Linked DNA regions of Homo sapiens: region 1 is linked to region 2. The links are contacts of gene promoters, found by promoter capture Hi-C in blood cells and fetal thymus (Javierre and others, 2016). All regions are on one chromosome and are shown on one strand. The core of a region is centred on a gene start or on the middle of the fragment in contact, and the rest is flanking DNA. Distances in the headings are between cores, read along the strand shown. Region 1 overlaps ZMYM6 (zinc finger MYM-type containing 6). Region 2 holds the start of KIAA0319L (KIAA0319 like).

Evidence for each region. The method cuts DNA at HindIII sites, captures the fragments that hold promoters and counts their contacts. A CHiCAGO score of 5 or more calls a contact.
Region 1: a fragment that was not itself captured here is called in contact with the fragment with the promoter of KIAA0319L in region 2 in 1 of 17 cell types (erythroblasts); the score reaches 5.4 in erythroblasts.

What each region holds. Positions count from the first base shown.
Region 1 is chr1:34,985,972-34,990,075 of GRCh38, forward strand. It overlaps ZMYM6 (zinc finger MYM-type containing 6), which reads right to left. Exons shown (of 16, transcript NM_007167.4): 16 at 194-2,964. The coding sequence ends at 1,133. Among named protein-coding and RNA genes, the nearest start is that of TMEM35B, 2.7 kb to the left of the region's middle. The HindIII fragment of the contact is 2,461 bases long and covers 157-2,617 here.
Region 2 is chr1:35,555,804-35,559,607 of GRCh38, forward strand. It overlaps KIAA0319L (KIAA0319 like), which reads right to left and starts at 1,600. Exons shown (of 21, transcript NM_024874.5): 1 at 1,404-1,600. NCDN (neurochondrin) reads left to right here and starts at 1,996. Exons shown (of 7, transcript NM_014284.3): 1 at 1,996-2,420; 2 at 3,304-3,444. The coding sequence starts at 2,388. RefSeq lists enhancers at 1-229, 1,030-1,757, 1,758-2,484, 1,774-1,833, 3,212-3,804 and silencers at 1,294-1,393, 1,404-1,543, 2,615-2,824. The HindIII fragment of the contact is 13,260 bases long and covers 1-3,804 here.

The DNA.
Region 1 (4,104 bases), core at 137-2,636, 570 kb before region 2:
GCCCATTTGCTCTTACCTGGAAATCTGTCTAAAGCTGGGATGGGCAAACCATGGGCCAAATTTGGCCAGATGTCTGATTTTTTTCCATGCTTCTCCCCTTCCCCCAAGCTAATAATGTTTGTTTACATTTTTTATGATAAAAACATTTTTTAAAGAAGCTTGTGTGACATAGGAAAATTATATGAAATTCATATTTCAGTGTTCATGAATAAGTTTTATTTAAAAACAGCCACACTTATCTGCATATTGTCTATGGCTGCTTTTGCACTGCAACTGCAGAATTGAGTAGTTGTGACAGTATGGCCTGCAAAGCTGAAAATATTTACTATCTGGCTCTTTATTTAAAAAGTTTGCTAAGCCCTGGTATATTGGGCCAGAAAGGCCCCAAGCAGGGGTCTCAAATCCCCCTGCTGCTTCCATTTATAGTTACCCAAGCTGCTTAGATCTATCTTTTTCCAGCTGGGCACGTTGGCTCACACTTGTAATCCCAGCACTTTGGGAGGCCGAGGCAGGTGGATCACTTGAGGTCAGGAGATAGAGACCAGCCTGACCAATATGGTGAAACCCCGTCTCTACTAAAAAAAATACAATAGACGGGCATGGTGGCACATGCCTGTAACCCCAGCTACTTGGAAGGCTGAGGCAGGAGAATTGTTTGAACCTAGGAGGCAGAGGTTCCAGTGAGCCAAGATCACGCCATTGCACTCCAGCCTGGGCAACAAGAGCAAAACTCCATCTCAAAAAAAAGATCTATCTTTTCCACCTACTCACAACCTTGCAGGGGTAAGTAGCTGGTTGGCTAGAAGACTGAAATGTTCCACTTGCTTCTAAAGGCCAAGCTGTTTCAACATCCAGGTTGTGCTGTTACATTATAAACTGGGCTTCTCATTACCTGCAGTCTTTGTCACTAGTCCAAATTTAATGAAATAACTAAATTTTCTACCCTAGATTATAATTATACATAATTATTTATAACAATCATAATTATTAAATTCCTCAACAAAAAGGGAAAAATTATTAAAACATTTAATCACTGAAAACACAAATCCACATTAGGAAATTATCTTTTAGGATACTTATACAAAACTTAACACAGGATTATTGACTTCACTGTTAAGCAATGTGCATATTGCTACTCTTTCTCCTTCACTAATTTTTCTATCCTTGGAATTAAAGATGTGACTGCAAGTCTTAGGGCAGGGCCAGAACCCAACAGATTTTTTTGTTTTGACTCAGTCAAAGCTGAAAAGGCAGCATCACATAAATAAACAGTTGAAAAGGGTAATAAAAATTTCATTGCCCTTTCATGGAGTTCTGGGTAACTTGTCTTTGCATTTATCCAAAACTGAGTTACAGACACTGATTTAAATAGTGCTTGTAATCCTAAATCTGAAGATAGCTCTGTTAGCTTTTCTTCTTCGAAGTCGGTGAGATTATTATTTTGGTGATTCATAAAAGGGTGAATTATCCACAAATTTCCTGAACGCAAGTCTTGTTCTGGTGGAAAACAGTCACTGAACACTTGAGAAAGTCCTTCCAGGTGCTCAAAAATAATCCTTGTGATGTCTGTCATATTTAAGCCTGATGAATTTGAGAATTCAGAAAATGAAGGGAACATGTCATAATCATTCTCTTGTGTGCGCTTCAACCACATTTTTAACTTTCTCTTAAATACATCAATTTTATTACACAAATTGAAGAAAGTAGTCAAAGTTCCTTGGAGACTTAAATTTAATTCATTTATAAGTGAAAATATATCTGATAAGTAGGCCAGCTTTCCAACCCATTCCTCATCATGAAAATACTTGGCCAAATCTGAATGCTTTTGACTTAAAAATATTTCAATCTCATGTCGTAATTCAAATAATCTTTTTAACATTCTCCCTCTTGATATCCAACGTACTTCAGCATGAAGCGGTAAACTCACATGCTCAGATCCCATCTCTTCACACAAAATTGTTAACATACGTGAATTTAATGCATTGCTCTTTATAAAACTTAAAATTTGTGCTGACTGCAAAAGAATTTTATGTAAACATGGAGACAACTTTTCTGCCACTAAACGTTCACGGTGAATAAAACAATGTGTAAATGCCGCTGTATTCATGGCAACTTCTTGAATTTTTGCTTTTAAACCAGAATACCTGCCAGTCATGCTTGCAGCCCCATCGGTACAGAGACCAACACAATGTTTCCAATTCAGAGATTTACTATCAATATATTTATTTATTAGTTCAAATATTTCAAAGCCAGTTATTTGAGTAGGCATTTCAATGCAAAATAATAATTCTTCTTTTACATCACGACAATCATAATCAATGAAACGAATATAGCACAAAAGAAGTGTGATATTTGAGATTTCTGATGACTCATCTATCTGAAGGGCAAACCACTTTGACTCTCTGACCTTTTGAATCAGCTGGTCTTCAATGTCTGCAGATAGTTCATCAATCCTGTGTTGAATTGTAACATTAGAAAGTGGAATAGTTTTCATTTTGTCTCCAGCACTTGAACCCAAAACTTCTGAACACATTTCTACTAAATATGGTTTAATTAATTCTTCAGCAATGGAGAATGGCTTCTTGCTTGCAGCAGTTTGGAAAGCAATTAAATAAGAAGCTTTCACAAGTGACTTTTCAACTAGTAAACACTTTTTTAAAGAACTATTTTGACATTCCATTTCTAAAGATTTTTGTTCAAAAAAATCTACTGGTTTGTTTTCTAATTCTGAATGTTTTGTCTTCAAATGATGAGAAAGATTTGCTGGCTTCATGTTTTCACTGGATAAGATCTCTCCACAAATGACACACTGTGGCCTTGGTGAACTTTCTTTTGATCCAGGACAGATAATAAAACCAACTTTTAAATATTCTGTATCATAAGTCTGGAAAAAACCTAATCTTTTTTTCTTTGAAGGTGGAGAATCAAGTTCTGCATCATTTTTTTCATTAGGCATAGGTAAATCTGAATGAAATATTTGAATCACTGTTATTTTCAAGAACAAATAAGCAATGTTCTTTATGTATCTCCCCACATATTTAAAATTCATATTTTGTTACTATTTCTATTTATCAAAAGAATGCACTGGTAAAAGTTTAAGCACAAGTCATAATACTTCCAATGATGCTACTGAAAACTGAATTTCTCCTTTGCCCAAAGCTTGATCACTAGGTATAATAAAACTGTAGGATGTGGTACATGTACAAGTAATCCCAAGCACCCAATAGGTTATTGAAATTAGGGCTGAAGACCATGATACACATCAAATTAACAATAAACTTTTTGGCTGAGCAGGGTGGCTCACACCTATAATCCCAGTGCTTTGGGACACCAAGGTGGGTGGGTCACTTGAGCCCTGGAGTTAGAGACCAGCCCGGGCAACATGGCGAAACTCCATCTCTACATTAAAAAAAAAAAAAGAAGAAGAAAAAAAATTGGCTGGATGCAATGGCACACACCTATAGTCCCAGCTACTTGGGTAGCTAAAGCAAGAGGATTGCCTGAGCCCAGGAGGTTGAGCCTGCAGAGAGCCATGATCACACCACTGCACTCTTGAGACTACGTCTCAAAAAAAAACAAAAAGAATAAATTTTTTATTGGTGAGTGACACTGGTGTCAAAAAATTTTTTTAAAGAAAAAGAAAAAAAAGGCCAGGCATGGGGCTCACACCTGTAATCCCAGCACTTTGGGAGGCCAAGGCGGGCAGATCACCTGAGGTCAGGAGTTCGAGACCAGCCAGGCCAACGTGGTGAAACCCCGTCTCTACTAAAAACACAAAATTAGCCAGGCATGGTGGTACATGCCTATAATCTCAGCTACTTGAGAGGCTGAGGCAGGAGAATCGCTTGAACCCGGGAGGCGGAGGTTGCAATGTGCCGAGATCATGTCATTGCACTCCGGCCTGGGAGACAAGAGTGAAACTCCATCTCAAAAAAAAGAAAGAAAAGGAAGAAAAAGAGACAGAAAAATAATGTTTTACTTTCAAACAATCCAGAAAAAAAAAGAAAATAAATATTGCAAAAAGTTAACATTTCATTAATCTGGATGAAGAGTATACTAGTATTGACTGTACTGTATATTCAACCTTTCTGAATTTTGATACTC
Region 2 (3,804 bases), core at 350-2,849:
CAATAGCCTGACAGGTGGGTGGGAGAAGCAGAAAAGAAATGAATAGCTTTTGAAAAATGGAGTAATAAACACCACTGGACTAACAAGCTGATTAGAAGTGCCATGTCTAATAAATCTTGCGTCTAAGAGAAAGGCAGAGTTAATTTCATTTGAACTCCTAACCAGTCATTCCTCTGAAACCTATAATTGCCTAAGGGCACAAATCACTGCTAGGGTCCAGTTAAAGGCTTGCTGACCAAACGCAAGAACAACAACACATCACCAAGATCCGAATAGTTTGTTACTGAATCAAAGGGTAACAACCCAGGGAGAGAACACACACCCCCACAATACTTGACAAATGAAAATCTAGAGAAGCTCACAATAGTTCTGGCATTTAGGGCGTTACAAGTACACCCAAAATAAAAGCACTCTCTGTTGCAGCAGCTGTTCAGACAGAGCAGGGGGTAATGTTTACTTAATACTTCAGGTTGATGGGGGATGTATCACAGTTCAGTCTGTCAACTACATACGTGGAACTCCATTTATGTACACAGCGATAAGATATGTTTGAACAACGATGGAGCACGTCTGAAACAATCTATTCAGTTGGTATGAGTAATCGAGAATAAAGCTCTTTTTTAAAAAGTCTCAGATATTTGGGAAAGTTACAGAACAGACTGCCATGAATAGCTTTGCTTATATTTGCAGACACTGTTTTCCAAATAGCTGGAAAAATGAACAGATTGTTCTGGGAGGTCGTCTTTCCAATTTGTTCCTAGTTTTCAGTCTGTTAATCACAGGAGAGAGCACAAGGAGAGTCAGCTAATGCTCTTCACTAACTGCAACTACTGTCAGTTGGACACAACCACTATGAGACCAGAAGCCAAAGAGTTCCTGGAATCCCGCCAGAGGTTATCAATTTTGACTTCCTTCATTTCACCTTTGTGCTCACTGCAGCCACTACAGGACCCTCTGTGGGGCATAATTTTCAAAATCGTGGATGAGGCAGGTTTCACATTATAATGGACACATCGTGCTCAACCCCATCCCCTCTTCATTCTGCACCAACTTTCTATCTCGGTGGAGAGACCAAACATCAGAGACAGCAACTAAAGACTAGGCTGCAGAGGTCGAAGGTGGAAGAAGGACGGCAGCGCCCCGAACCCCGGCTGTCTGCCTGGCTCTCAGGGGATGGAGGGAGCTGCATGACTAGGCCCAGGCCCGAGAGAAGCGGGGTTCAGCCTGGGACCCAAGCTGCGCACCTGCAAGGACAGAAGCAGCTGGCTGCCCTGGCCGAGCCAGGGGCGCCACCTCCGGACCCAACATCCGGCCAGCGCAGCCGCTGACATCGCCCGTCCCGCTTGCCCCTCCCCTGAGCCCATGGTCCTCGGCCTGGCAGCCAGCCGCCCCCGGCCACCTACCGGGGCTCAGGGCCACATAGCGGGGCCCCGGCTCTCGGCGGCCTCCGCCTCCTCCTGGTCCATGGGCTCGGGGACCCCCAACCTTCGCTCCCCTCACCCGGAGGAGGAGGAGGAAGAGGAAGAAGGTAGTGCGGGCTCCCCACCCGGACAGCTACCTCTCGCCTCAGCCTCCCTGGACAGCGACGGCGGCCGGAAACACCGCCTCCTCCCACCTCCCCGGGACCGACCCGGAAACACACTCTCCATGCTAACCAAGCCCTCCCGCCCCTCCCCCGGGAAGGGCAATGCCGGCCGCGAGACCAAGGGGGAGGAGGGGCAGTGCTGGGCGGGTAAAACTACGCACAAGCGAAGGAATCTGGGCCCCCAGCCTCTCGCCGCCCGCTCTCCAGAGGCAGTCTGCACCTTGCCTCCTTCGCTCGAGCCCCAGCCCCCAGACTCGGGCAATACCCACAAGCAAGATGGCGGCAACGGCGGCACCCCCTACTGCTTAGCACCCTGACTTGCCATTGGCCAGAGCCCGGAGTGAAGCAGCCGCGGATTCGTCAAGAGCGGTGCGGGGGTGGGGGTGGAGCTGCAGCAGCCTGGAGCCAGGAGTGGGCAACGCGGCGTGAGCAGCGGCCCGAGGCTCCCGGAGCATCGCGCTGGGAGAAGACTTCGCCGCTCGGGGCCGCAGCCTGGTGAGCTCAGCCCCCTTCGGGCCCTCCCCTGCATCCCAGCCGGGGCCTCTCCGAGCCGGCGCTGATCGATGCCGACACACCCCGGGGACCCTATCGCGACTCCATCGCGCCATATCGCGACACCATCGTGCCCTGTCGAGACTCCATTTTGTCACAGCCCTTTTCAATATATATCTTTTTTTTTTTTAATTTGCCCTGTCATCTTTGGGGGCTGTCTCCCATGTCGTGATTTTGACGTGATCTCTCCGTGACATCACCGCGCCATCGTGAAGTGTGATCTCATCGCCGCCCTGTCGTGACTTCATCAATGTCGTGTTGTGACCTGGCTGCGGCGGGACAGGTGGTGACCGCCAGGAACCCTCCTCCCCTTCTCATCTCCCCATCTCAGCAGCCCTGCTTCGATTATCCGGCTTTTGGATTCTCCGTTGTCCTGGGAACTATCCGGGACCCCCTCTTGCTTCTCCAGCCCCTGCCGGCATCCACAGGCTGGTAGCGGGACGGGGAGGGCGAGAAGAGGGAGCGCAAGGGGTTAATTCTGCTGCTGCCGCCGCCGCTGCTGCTGCTGCTGCAGCCTCTACCCGAGGGAGGGAAAGGAGAGGAGGCAAGGAGCCTGCGGGGGCGACTGAGAGCCCTGGCTGGAGGGGTGGGGTCCCCAAAGGGGCCTCCAAGCCTTCCCTGTTGAGCGTCTTGTATTCTCACTTCTGAAGCGTATCTCTGCCTCTGAAGAAGGGAGGGGAAAGGAAGCCTGGGGTGTCCTTTTCTCCCATGTCAGCCTGAGTCCGGATAATCGAACTTCACCCATGTATGTCTCCATTTCTCCCTGTCTGTCCTCACCACTCACTCCCTCTGTGTCCCTGTGGAGGGAGATAAAACCCAGCCTCCGGTGCCAGGGGGACAGCTGAGCAGTGGGGCCAGCTCCCGCCCACCCCCAGGAGACTGGTGAGGAGAGCTGTCCGGCTGAGCAGCAGCATGCATGGTCCTTCTTTCCCGCTTTCTGGAGGTGACCTTGGACCAGGGTCCCTTCTTTATCCCTAAGGATTTGCAGATCCAGCCCCTTAAAGGGGCTTCTGGGGGGAGGTCAGTCCTGAGGAGTCCACCCCTCCAGATTCTCTCCTCCCCTCCCTCTGTGCTAATCCCTCCCTCCCTCCATCCTCCACTCTCACCCCCACCCCACCCCCGTCCCTCCTCTGCAGAGGGATGCTCAGTCCCTCTTGTGTTCACAGTTGGGCAAGGCGAGCATCATGGCCTCGGATTGCGAGCCAGCTCTGAACCAGGCAGAGGGCCGAAACCCCACCCTGGAGCGCTACCTGGGAGCCCTCCGTGAGGCCAAGAATGACAGCGAGCAGTTTGCAGCCCTGCTGCTAGTAAGGAACTGGCTGAAAATTGGGAGGTGGGAAGGGCTGGGTGGTTGGGCCCCCAAGGAATGGGGTCAGTGAGTCCCCAAGGATATGTACGTAGTGCTAGCAACCCTGGAGGCACCAACGAAGGCCCAAGACCCCTACCTTTGTGCTCTTTTTTGCTCCCCCTGAGAATGGGGGCAAAGAGGAGAATGGGACTGAATAAGGCTGTGGCACTAGGGGCTGCCTGGGTCTGTTTTCTGGGGCGTCCCAGAGCAGATGGAAGCTGACTCATAGGGTAACAGCAGCAGGTAGTAACTAGTGCAGAGTACTTGAGGGCTGGGGATGGTTGTTCTGGGCCTGGAGAGAGTAGCAGGGCTGGAAGTG